3 separate regions of the Homo sapiens genome follow, and all the other regions are linked to region 1. Evidence: promoter capture Hi-C in 16 types of primary human blood cells and fetal thymus (Javierre and others, 2016). All regions are on one chromosome and are shown on one strand. Each heading gives the region's core, a stretch centred on a gene start or on the middle of the fragment in contact. The rest is flanking DNA. Distances are from core to core; before and after follow the strand shown.

What was found. Contacts are between HindIII fragments. The CHiCAGO score rates a contact against its expected background, and 5 or more counts as called.
Region 2: a contact is called between a fragment that was not itself captured here and the fragment with the promoter of SHROOM1 in region 1, in 1 of 17 cell types (erythroblasts). The highest score is 5.5, in erythroblasts.
Region 3: the fragment with the promoter of ZCCHC10 here is called in contact with the fragment with the promoter of SHROOM1 in region 1 in 3 of 17 cell types (naive CD8 T cells, erythroblasts and M0 macrophages); the score reaches 5.9 in naive CD8 T cells.

What each region holds. Positions count from the first base shown.
Region 1 is chr5:132,828,560-132,832,801 of GRCh38, reverse strand. SHROOM1 (shroom family member 1) reads left to right here and starts at 2,155. Exons shown (of 10, transcript NM_001172700.2): 1 at 2,155-2,208. RefSeq lists silencers at 1,847-2,266, 2,477-2,786. The HindIII fragment of the contact is 14,647 bases long and covers 1-4,242 here.
Region 2 is chr5:132,584,517-132,588,758 of GRCh38, reverse strand. It overlaps RAD50 (RAD50 double strand break repair protein), which reads right to left. Exons shown (of 25, transcript NM_005732.4): 6 at 1,069-1,197; 7 at 670-835; 8 at 1-72. Among named protein-coding and RNA genes, the nearest start is that of RAD50, 30 kb to the right of the region's middle. The HindIII fragment of the contact is 780 bases long and covers 861-1,640 here.
Region 3 is chr5:133,024,432-133,028,673 of GRCh38, reverse strand. It overlaps ZCCHC10 (zinc finger CCHC-type containing 10), which reads left to right and starts at 2,125. Exons shown (of 5, transcript NM_001300816.3): 1 at 2,125-2,177. The coding sequence starts at 2,137. RefSeq lists a silencer at 1,846-1,975 and an enhancer at 2,056-2,365. The HindIII fragment of the contact is 6,187 bases long and covers 1-3,470 here.

The sequences.
Region 1 (4,242 bases), core at 906-3,405:
AAGAGGTGAGTGGTAGGTGGGTGGAGTGGGTTAATAAGAATCGCTCTGGACTGCGTCCTCATGGTCCCTAGCAGAGAGGTGCTGTAGTGTGTGCAAGAGGTGAGTGGTAGGTGGGTGGAGTGGGTTAATAGAATTGTTCTGGACACTGTGTCCCCATAGTTTTCAAGAAATATAAGTAAAAAACATAACCATTTTTTTTTTTTTTGAGACAGAATCTCACTCTGTTGCCCAGGCTGGAATGAAGTAGCGTGATCTCGGCAGACTGCAGCCTATGCCTCCTCGGTTCAAGCGATTCTTGTGCCTAGGCCTTCCAAGTAGCTGGGACTACAGGTGCGTGCCACCACGTCCAGCTATTTTTTTTTGTATTTTTGTAGAGACAGGGCTTCGCCATGTTGCCGAGGCTGGTCTCGAACTCCTGAGCTCAAGCAATCTGCCCACCTTGGCCTCCCAAAGTGCTGGGATTACAGGCATGAGCCACCGCCCCAGCCAACATGAGCAATTAAAAATTTTTTGTTGTTGTTTGCTGGGCTGTCTTTCTTCTATTTTGATGCTGCTGTGAGACTCTGTGGATCAGGGTCTTAAAAATATTAAAAGTCTTTCAGGCCGGGTGCGGTAGCTCATGCCTGTAATCCAGCACTTTGGGAGGCCAAGGTGGGTGGATCACCTGAGGTCACGAGTTTGAGACCAGCCTGGCCAACATGGCGAACCCCGTCTTTACTAAAAATACAAAAATTAGCTGGGCGTGGTGCCCGGTGCCTGTAATCCCAGCTACTTGGGAGGCTGAGGCAGGGAAAATTGCTTGAACCTGGGAGGCGCAGGTTTCAGTGAGCAGAGATCCGGCCACTGCACTCCAGCCTGGGCGACAGAGGGAGACTCTGTCTCAAAAAAGCAAAACAAACAACAAAAGTCTTTCAAAGCCGAAAGGTTCTTAGGCACTGTCTTAAAGCCTAGCGCTCCAGCTGAAGCTGGTGCCTGAGTCCAGATGGTGTTGAAGAAGGAGCAGGGCCCAGCGGGCACCACTCTCAGAAGTCGGGCTCAGGTGTCTCCTGCCTCCGAACCCAAGAAGACCCAAGAAGACAGAGTTCCTCAGGCTCCCAGTGTCCCTAGGAAGTGGCAACCTTGACTCTTGGCCAGAGTTCAGAGTCCTGGTTATTAACACCAATAAACCTTTATTTGCCAGGGATACTACCATGGGAGGACACAGCCCCTGAGCCCAGCCCTGTTGATCCTGTGGGAGCGGGAGGGCAGCGGAGGACAAAGGCAGAGACCTGAGAGCCGGAGAGGCTCATCAAAGGGTCCCCAGCCCCTCTCAGGAACGGAGCATTTCTTGGCAGAGTGGTATTCATAGGACAGAGTTTGGGAAGTCGGGGCAGGGGAGCCTGAGGACACAGCAAGGAGAGCTCAGTGGCAGGTGCAGGCAGAGCGTTCTTTGGAAAATGGAGATCCTGGAAGGTGAGGGCCTCGAGCGCCAGTGTCCAGCCTTAGTGGGTATGCATATGTCCAGCTCCCTAAGGACACACTCAGGACAGCTAAGGTGCACACAAGTCCAGGGGCTTCCCCGTGCTCCGCCCCCCTCTCCCCCACCCCGGTAGCAGGCTGGAGGGCCCAGACCATGCTGGGTAGTGGGAGAAATGGAAAGAAATGGGACAGGGAACAGGAGACAAGAGCCCATGGTGGGAGTCAAAGAGCTGGAAGAGTTTTGGAAATGGGGGTCTGGGGGTAGAGTTGATCAAGGGCCGAGTTACTCAGCGGGACAGGTGGGAGGCACGAGGCCCTGGCAGCTCTGTTTTCTTGGCCGGGCTTGGGGGGGAAAGCGGGTAGCCGTCAGGCGCCTAAGGGCCCGCCCTGGACCTCCCCACCGAGGGAGGTGTCAGGCCCCGAGGGACCCGGCCCCCGAGCATCACGGACGCGCTGGAGGCCGGTGGGCGGTCGCCGTAGTCGCCCTCCCACCACCTCGCTCAGGTTTCTCCGGCCTGGGGCAAGAGGCCTGTGGCCCGCGCGGGAACGCACTGTCCACCCTCAGACCTGGGACTGGGCCGGCGCGCGGACGCTACCAAGAGGCTGCGGCTCCCGCCCCCGCGGCCGGACGTGGCGCCTCCCCTGAGGCCGCGGCCGGAGCCTGGAGGTGGGGTCGGAGTCAGAGCCCGGGGCTCTGATGTCACCGCGCGGCTGCGACGGCCCAGGAGCGCGTCTCGGCGGGAGCCTCAGGTACGCGGCGGGGGCGGGGGAGCGGGAAGCGGGCGGCTGGGTCCGCTTCCCCCGGGAGGCCGGCGGGGCTGCGGGCGGACGGGGGTGAAGAGCGGGCGGCGAGGCGGTGGTCGCGGGGCAGCCCGGGCATCGTTCGGCCGGGACGTGTCTGGCTCGGCGCCGCGTCAGGTTGCGCCAGTGGAGTCGGACCCCAGCGCGCCTCTCCCAGCTGCAGAGCTGCAGGGCGGAGAGGCGGCCCACTCTAAGCTGGCGGCGCGGCTCAGGGGCGCGGCTGGGCGCGCCGCGTGTGGCGCCGGCGGGCAGCGCGGTCTCACTCCGCCACCCTCCGCTCCTGCCCTTTGTCGCCAAGCATCTGGAGAAGCCGGGTCCTTCCCTCCCGGGCTCGCGCTGTCCCCTGCGCGCGATCCTTCCCCGACGGTGAACCCAACGGGAAAGGCCCAGAACTGCGCGGGGCTGCGGCCATCTGCTGTCGAGCCGCTCCGCGTGTCTCTGCCGCCCCCTGCGGCCGCCGGGGCCTGCGCCTCTCTCCCTCCCGTGCCTCGGCTCCCAGAGATTGAACCCCAGGTAACCGGGTCTGTCCACGCCCGCGGCCGCCTCTCCCCGGGTGTCGCCAGCTTCCTGCATTTCCTGTGCATGGCACGGAGCTCGGGTCTCCAGAGACTCTGCATCTGGGGTGCAGCGACCGATGAGCCCGTAAACCAGTCGCACACTCGGAGCGTGGATGCTGCGTGGGGTGCGCTGTCAGCGCGGACAGGCTGGGAGAACGGGGGACGCTGGGGACAGGGAGAGCCGGTGAACTTCCCAGAACGTCCGCCTAGCCAGACCCAGCTGCGGGTACTGGGTTTTGAGACGTGGTCCAGTACCCAGGAACTCAGTCTGACAGGGAGACAGCGCCTACACAGTGAGCCCAGTACTGAGGGAAGACCCGCTGGGAGGGGCGGCCTGGATAGCCCCTCCACAGAGAGGTCAGATGTGAGGTGGCCTTGAGGGAGGTATGATGTAAATCCTGATCATTCGTTGTATTTGAGGCTGTCCGTTCTCCTGTGCCTCCTCGGTCGCCTTACTTGGATCTGTTCCCATTGCCTTGGTGTGATTTTATCCACCGGAAACTGTCTTCAGCTATTTCCCCAGTAACCTCTAACTAAAAACCTGGGTCTTGCCTGGTCTACCCTCCCCTGCTGAACTCCAGAGCCACATCCCAACTGCTGCCTGACTTGTCACAGACACCATGAAGCCCAGACTGAAGGAGCACTGGCCCCCTTGACAATTCCTCAGCCCCAGCTCCTCCTTTCAGACTGGTGCCTCCACCTGCCAGACCCCTAGCTTTGAAGGCCAATCTCATCTTCGTCTCCTTCCTCTCTGGCTCCTTCATTCAGGTGACAAGTATACATCAAATGCCCACCCCAACTCCCCCTCCCAGGACTCCAATCTGGTGTCTTTCTAGCGGGGAGTCTAGGTTGCTCCCTCTGCTCTGGAGAGGCTTGGCAAAATGCCTGCAGAGCTCCTTGAGCTCCACCTCTGAACTCCCTTTCAGCAGCCGGCACAGGCATAACAGCCCAGCCCACAGGTACCACTGCCACTGAGGCAGGGACCCCTAAGGTAGGGCTACCCCCAGCCACAGGGGCTGGCTGGACTGCAAGAGGCTCCCTGCAGCCAGACAAGTATGAAAATGCCTTGTTGTTTTGTGCTGAGGCCCCCCAAAACACACCAAAGCAGCTGGGCCCTCTTGGCATGGTAGGTTCTGCAAAGCACCCACTGTGAGGAGCCTGCGTGAACATCAACCTGATAGGGCCACCAGTGCAAAAGCATCTTCAACAAGTTACAGTCAATAAGGAAACACATGTGTAGACACATTTTTATTGCCCATTCAAGCTGTTTTTATTTGCTGAATTCAGAATCCTTTAACATAGTAACTCACAAATAAGATAGATTTTCATAGATTTTCAAGACCTCTTTTGAGGAAACATCTTGTGTTTGGTGATCCCCATCTGTAGCTGCAGCAAGCCAAAATGGGCAGGATGGGTGACATGAGCT
Region 2 (4,242 bases), core at 1-2,500, 240 kb after region 1:
CCAAAGACTGAATTAATGAATCTCTAGCTCGGATATGTTCTTGATGGCGATCTGCTTGCAGCTGTAGACGACCTTTTAAAAAAAAAATCTCATAATTTTTTTTTCAACTGGTGCTTAAAAAGTTGAGATAGCTGCAGATTCACGAGTTATAAAAAATAATGCAGTGTGTCTCTTGTACATTTTGCCCAGTTTCTCCCAATGATAACATTTTGCAAAACTGCAGTAAAATATCACAACCAGAATACTGATATTGATATAATTCATCAATCTTATTCAAATTTCCCCAATTTTATTTGTACCCCTGAGCATGTGGATGTGTGTATATTAAGTTCTATATAATTTTATCACCTGTGTCGGTTCATATATCCACTATGGCAGTCAAGATACTGAACAGTTCCAATACTACAAGGACTCTCTTTTTGTTCTAATCATAACCATACCTAGCTCCCTCCTGTCCTTTCTCTTACCCAGTATCCCTGGCAACCACTAATTTCTCCACTATTTCTAAAATTTTGACATTATAAAAATGTTATATAAATGGAAACATACTGTGTATAGCCTTTTAAGATTGGCTTTTCACTCAGCATAAGTCCTTGGAGATTCTTCATTCATACAGAAAATGTATAACATCATAGTAGGAAAAACGACCAAATAAACATTTTGTCCTACCCTGTTCAACAAGCAGTTCTGATTTTTCCTGATTGAGAAGCCTAGATTCTTTATTTAGTTTTTCCAGTTCACGATGACAGTCTACCAATTTCCTTTCTTTCTCCCTTACTGTTCTCTGGTGATTGTGATATAAGTCATTTAGTTGCTCATCAGTCCCTTGAAAAACCTGTGTAACACCAAAATAAAAAGCTTTAATGTACAAACATAAGAAAATATGATCACTTTGAGGTATCAAATATAAACCAAACCTTATTCAATATCCTTCATTTTAACATATACATAGAAGTAACAAGATCTGTATTTGTTTTTTTCCAATGTGGATGGCAAAATGGATTCAAATAAAGTTCATTACAATAATCCCAAAATTTTGAAGCAGAACAAAATTCTACCACCACAAACCTTTTCCATTTTCTCTTCCAGTTCACTATTATCTTTCTCCATTTGCTTCTTTCGGCTATCCAAGGCTTTAATTTCATTGTCAAGTTTCATTATTTTAGAGAGATTATGTTCAATTTCTTTTAGACGATTCTGAAAATAAAGAAACATTACATAAATAAAACTCACTATAGCTTACATGGCTGATAGATGAAGACAAGTAAGATACTCCAGGTCCAGGCATTTAGTAAAAGTGATCTCATTTAAGGCTAACAATAACACTGTAGAGCAGGCCTAGAGAAACTGAAGTTCAGAGACATTAAGTAACTTGGCCCAAGTCCTCACAGCTAGTAGAGAGAAGCAGGAATTAAATTCCACTTCTAACTCCAAACACCATGTCCTGTCCTCAACACCTGCCACAAAAGTCATTATTCATTCATTGGGCATTTAGAGTTACTTAATCCTTAAAAAGGTAACTATTTAATGTATTTTTTTAAGTCAGGACTACTGAGAAGGCTAGAAATTCATGGTGAGTTACCAATGCATTCTGAGCCTATAGGCAAATTTACATGAAGAGTATACTTTAATCCAAAGCTTGCTCAACCACAGAGGACTCTGAGCAAGTAAAGTACAACAAGGGAGCTCAGTGGCCTGCTCTGAGGCTCGCTTCCAGAGACAGCTGGTTGCCTCATCTCCCAGGAATACTGGGATCTGGTTCGGGGCATTCTCTTATTGGATGATGCTGGGGATATTCTTCTAGTGTTTGCCTCTATGATTCCAAAACTGACCAACTCTTCTTCTAAGACATTTTTACAACCTACTTTTATTATTATTATTTCAAATGCAGAGACAAGGTCTTGCTATGTTGCCCTGGCTGGAGTGGCTATTCACAGGTGCAATAACAGTGCAATACAACTTGAACTCCTGGGCTCAAGTGTTCCTCCCACCTCAGCCTCCAAGTAGCTGAGACTATAAGTATGTACCACCATGCCCAGCAGAACCTAATTTTAAACTAACATATGAAGTTATTGGAATGCTTAGACAGCAATTGCAAGCTTTCATAATTGCACCAAAATGCATCCTCGACTTTAACATAATTTATTAAAATTATACTAATAGTATAGCTTGTGATTTGTATATGAACGTAAACGTTCATATACAAATGAACCTAAAAACAGAAACTTTGTTTACTTTGTTCCCTAATGTATCCCCAGAACATGCAATAGGTGTTCAATGTTAGCTAAACGAAAGAGAGATTTGAAAAAAATAATTTTACCAAGAGCAACAGTCACAGGTATCACTGATTGAATGTCTGCTATGTTCCAGACACTGTACTAGGTGCTGCTATAAATTCTCTCTAATCCTCACAAAAGTATATACTAAGCAGGAAATTCAAAGGACTTAACTGACTTGTACAAAATTGTATAGTTAAGATTGGGAGACAAGATAACAATAAGATTAGAAGGCAGGGTATCATAATGACTAGGCTCTGGGTGCTAGAAGAAGTGGACATTTGTATGTAAGAAAGTAAACCTCAACTTTTACCTCATATCATATTAAGATTCTGAAATGAAGCATATACTTAATTGTAAGAACTCAAACTATAAAACTTTTAGAGGAAAACACTGAAGAATATTTTTGTGACACTGGGTCAAAGACTTCCTAAATAATAAACAAAAAGTATAAACCATAAGAGAAAAAAGTTTATAAACTGTACCTGATCAAAATTTAAAACTCCTGTCCTCTGAAAAGCAGTTAAGAAATATCTGCAAAACCAATATCTGATAAAGGGCTTGTATCCAGAACATATTTAGAACTCTCTGCCTGGCACTGTAGCTCACACCTGTAATCCCAGCACTTTGGGAGACTGAGGCAGGCTGATTGCTTGAGCCCAGAAGTTTGAGACCAGCCTGGGTAACCTGGTGAGACCTTGCCTCTACAAGTCTCACCGGTGTGGTGAGTGTGTGCCTGTAGTCCCAGCTACGTGGGAGACTGAGGTGGAAGGATCACTTGAGCCTGGGAGTCAGAGGTTGCAGTGAGCCAAGATCACACCACTGCACTCTGGCCTGGGTAAGACAGCGAGACCCTGTCTCAAAAAACAAGAAAAAAAAAAAAAAAAAAAAGAACTCTCACAGCTCAATAATAAAATGACCAATAAATAAATAACATTGAAAAATAGGCAAAAGACTTTTATATTTTACTAACGAAGATATTCAGGTGGCAAATAAATACATGAAAAGATGCTCAAAATCAATAATCAATTGACTGATCAACTAGGAAAACACAAATTAAAAATATAAAGAAATACAACCTCACAATGTCACAATGAGACACTACCACACCCCTACTGTTATGGCTAAAATGAAAAAGACTGACAGTACTAAGTGGGGATGAGAATGCAGAGCAATTACATTCCCATAAATTGTTGGTATATTGTTGGTAGGACTATGAAGTGGTACCAGATGGTACAGCCATCTGGTAACTTATAAGGTTAAACATATATTTACCACACGACCTAGCAACCCGAGTCCTAAAGTTATCCAAAGACCTGTATACAGAAGTTTATAGCAGTTTTATCTGTAACAACCCAAAGCCGAAAACAACTTATTTCTTTTTATTATACTTTAAGTTCGAGGGTACATGTGCACAACATGCAGGTTTGTTACATATGTATACATGTGCCATGTTGGTGTGCTGCACCCATTAACTCGTCATTTACATTAGGTGTATCTCCTAATGCTATCCCTCCTCCCTCCCCCCACCCCACAACAGGACCCAGTGTGTGATGTTCCCCTTCCTGTGTCTGTCCAAGTGTTCTCATTGTTCAATTCCCACCTATGAGTGAGAACATGCGGTGTTTGGTTTTTTGTTCTTGCGGTAGTTTGCTGAGAATGATGGTTTCCAGCTTCATCCATGTCCCTACAAAGGACATGAACTCATCATTTTTTATGGCTGCATAGTATTCCATGGTGTATATGTGCCATATTTTCTTAATCCAGTCTATCATCATTGGACATTTGGGTTGGTTCTAAGTCTTTGCTATTGTGAGTAGTGCTGCAATAAACATACATGTGCATGTGTCTTTATAGCAGCATGATTTATAATCCTTTGGGTATATACCCAGTAATGGGATGGCTGGGTCAAATGGTATTTCTATTTCTAGATCCTTGAGGAATCGCCACACTGACAAATGGGTTC
Region 3 (4,242 bases), core at 876-3,375, 200 kb before region 1:
CGTTGGCTCATGCCTGTAATCCCAGCACTTTGGGAGGCCAAGGCAGGCGGATCACCTGAGGTCAGGAGTTTGAGACCAGCTTGGCCGACATGGTGAAACCCTGTCTCTACTAAAAATACCAAAATTAGCCAGGCACGGGGGCAGGCGCCTGTAGTCCCAGCTATTCGGGAGGCTGAGGCAGGGGAATCACTTGAACCCGGGAGGCGGAGGGTGCAGTGAGCCAAGATAGTGTCACTGCACTCCAGCCTGGGCAATAGAGGTAGACTCCGTCTCAAAAAAAAGAAAAACAGGGTGCATGTCCTTTGACCCAGCAATCCTACTAGGATGTCATCTTATAGCAACACGGGGGATTTACTCTTTCTGTTGTTGTGGTAAATGATCTAATTGTTCAGCAATAGGGTACTGGCTGGATACTTGGGGAATATCCATGTAATCCATAACATAATGTATAAAAAGAATGAATTAGATCTGTATGTGCAGACATGGGAAAATATTTTCTTTTCTTTTTTTGTTTTTGAGATGGAGTTTCACTCTTGTTGCCCAGGCTGGAGTGCAATGGCGCGATCTCGGCTCACTGCAACCTCTGCTTCCCAAGTTCAAGCGAATCTCTTGCCTCAGCCTCCCGAGTAGCTGGGATTACATGAATGCACCACCACGCCCGGCTAATTTTTTTTGTATTTTTAGTAGAGATGGGGTTTCTCCATGTTGGTCAAGCTGGCCTTGAACTCCCAACCTCAGGTGATCCGCCCTTCTCGGCCTCCGAAAGTGCTGGGATTACAGGCGTGAGCCACTGCGCCTGGCCGGGAAAACATTTTCATAAGTACACTGAGGAATGAAAAAATCAAGCTGGAGAACACAACATGTAAGAGCCTATTTTTTTGAAGAACAAGTTGTGCTCAAAGGTCACATCATCACCTTCCCTAACTCCTAATCACTCTTTAATCCCTTACTCTGAAATATTTTTCGTTAGAGTACTTATGCCCATGAGAATAGTCTTCATTCATTGTCTGTAGAAAGTTCCATGTGTACACGGATTTTATTTGTTCAAATGCTCTGTCCTCAGCTCCTAAAACATTTTAAGTGTTAATTATTAATTGAAAAAATATGGCTGGGCGCGGTGGCTCACGCCTGTAATCCCAGCACTTTAGGAGGCCGAGGCGGGCGGATTATGAGGTCAGGAGATCGAGACCATCCTGGCCAACATGGTGAAACCCTGTCTCTAGTAAAAATACAAAAATTAGCTGGGCATGGTGGCGCGTGCTTGTCATCCCAGCTATTCGGGAGTGTGAGACAAGAGAATCTCTTGAACCAGGGACCCAGAGGTTGCACTGAGCCGAGATCGCGCCACTGCACTCCAGCCTGGCGACACAGCGAGACTCTGTCTCAAATTAAAAAAAAAAGGAAAAAATATGGATGACCCAGAAACACACACACACTTCAGAAAATTATATATATTTCAGAGAACGTGGGTTTTAAGAGAATAATAGCTCCGTGAGCTGACATTAGATGTAGGTGCAGCTAAAATATTCTAAAATATTTGTATAGTCCTTTTCTGCTTGATAAAGCAGCTTTAGTTATACAGTCCCATTTAGTACTCGTAACAACGCTGTGAAATACATAAAAAACAGAAATAACGTATATGTTTGCACTCCATGGCTTGCTAAAGTCATTCTTTCAATTGATGGTCTCAATCCTGGTCAACTAATTCCTTTCTATTCTCCAGACTACTTCTAGTTTTCTGAACACCAAAGTTTCATTCTTTGTCTTTGTATGTGTATCCCTCGTTCGAGAATGTTGTCCTCATTTTCCACAGATAATGTTCTTGCCTGTAATCATCCTTTGAAACCCTGTTCGGCCCGAGAACCCGAGACCCATACTGGAGACACCGGCCCCTCCCGACCCACCAGTCCCTCCCGTCCCGACCCTCCAGCCCCTCCAGCCCCTCCCCTCCCGACCCTCCAGCCCCTCCCCTCCCGACCCTCCAGCCCCTCCCCTCCCGACCCACCAGCCGGCACTAAGATACCTCCCCTTAGAAGCCTGTCTGGCCCCGCCTACGTCTACGGCCTCCCGGTTGGAAGCCCCGCCCTTCCGAGGAGTTTCCCAAAACCCTGCGCGGCCGGCTTTGACCGCGCTAAGATGGCGACTCCCATGCATCGGCTAATAGCCCGGAGACAAGCGTAAGTAAGGATCCGGTTCGGGTCCACTGGAGGGCTGGGAGCGGGGAAACGCGCGTCAACGGGCTGGTGTCGGACCCCTATTGGGACCGGCGGAGAATGTCCGTTTCTCAAACACTCTTCTGGCTCCCGGGGGGCTCGGGCCCGGGCGATAAGTCTGGTGACCGGGGGTTAGCGATTTCGCGGAAGACAGCCGCGTAAAGTCTGCGGCACGGGACAGAGCGGGGTTTGAAGACAACTGTCGCGTTTGGTTTCTCTGAAAGGAACGCCCACAGTTGGTCACTCAGTGATTTATGCCCCTCCGCCAACCCCACGCGTGGACAGGGGAGCCCTGAAGCCCCGGTCCGACACCTTTATTCCAGCCGACGTAAACCTTCAGTTTCCTATTCAGTGTCCAGCCCAGCTGCCTTTTCCTACTTCCTTATTCTAGCGCCTTCCTTAGGAACACCCTGCCTTCAATGCCGATTGCTTTCCCAGGCTATCTTACCACCTTTTGCTACTCATTCTCTCTTTCAATAAATATTAATTTATTTAGTTCCTACCGTTCTGTGCCAGACATTGGGTATAAATAGAGGTGTTCAAGACAAAATCCTTGCTTTCAGAGAGCTTACATTCTAGTGATGGAAACAGTCGATAAACCACAAATTGTAAATACAGCTGGTGATAACAGCTTTGAAGGAAGTAAGCTGTTGTGATGGAAAGAGGGAAAGGCCCACTTTAGGTTGGTTGGACTGGAAAGGCATCTCTGAAGAGGTGGAATTTGAACAGAGATTTAAAGGATGAAAAAGGAACAGTCATACGAGGATTTTGAGAAAGAGCATCCGGATAGTGGCATAATTGCTTTGAGCCTGAAACTTACTTTTTACAGAACTGAAAGATAGCCATTACGCCTAATGAACAAGAGAGAGTGGCAGAAGAGATTCATAGCTGACAAATAATGCAAGGGTCACCCCAGATGCCCCTTTCTTTTTTTTTTTTTTTTTTTTTTTTTTTTTTGAGGCGGAGTCTTGCTCTGTCTCCCAGGCTGGAGTGCAGAGGTGCAATCTTGGCTCACTGCAAGCTCCGCCCCCCGGGTTCACGCCGTTCCCCTGCCTCAGCCTCCCGAGTAGCTGGGACTACAGGCGCCCGCCACCATGCCCGGCTGGTTTTTTGTATTTTTAGTAGAGATGGGGTTTCACCGTGTTAGCCAGGATGGTCTCGATCCCCTGACCTCGAGATCCGCCCGCCTTGGCCTCCCAAAGTGCTGGGATTACAGGCGTGAGCTACCGCGCGCGGCAACCCCTTTCTTATAAAGCTTTTTTTTCCAACAGCCTTTGCACATCCAGACATCTGCCTCTTTTTCATAAATATTTCATGCCATCTCCATTTTCATGTCTATATGTAGCTCAGAGTCTGCTAGTATATGTATGTGTGTTTATCTGTATATCTTTTTATATTTTTTAATTCAAATAATCCCTTTTTCTTCTCCTTTCCATCTACCCTTTCAGGCCTGATAAGAAGAGTTCCTCAAATGTACAGACAGACTTAGGGAGTTAGAGTAGTAAGCTTGGTGAAGGAAGAAGGCTCGAAGTCAGACAGGTTTTTTTTGTTTTTTTTTTAGACGGAGTCTCACTCTGTTGCCCAGGCTGGAATGCAGTGGTGCGATCTTGGCTCACTGCAACCTCTGCCTCCCTGGTTCAAATGATTCTCCTGCCTCAGCCTCCCGACTAGCTGGGACTACAGGCGTCCGCCACCATGCCCTGCTAATTTTTGTATTTTTTAGTAGAGACGGGGTTTCACCATGTTGGTCAGGCTGGTCTCGAACTCCTGATGTCAAGTGATCTGCCCACCTTAGCTTCCCAAAGTACTGGGATTACAGGCATGAGCCACTGCGCCCACCATTAAGTCAGACAATTCTGAGATCAAAAATGGGATGGTGATACTTAAAGGGAGTGCTAAATGATGTCACCAGGATCCCATTTCTCCCTGTCTGTCTCTCATGCTTGCTCTTTCGTTGTTGGCTCCATATTTGGATAGGCTCTATTCTTTGCTCCCAAGATGGCTGCAGTATCCAGGGTCCTATCTATTC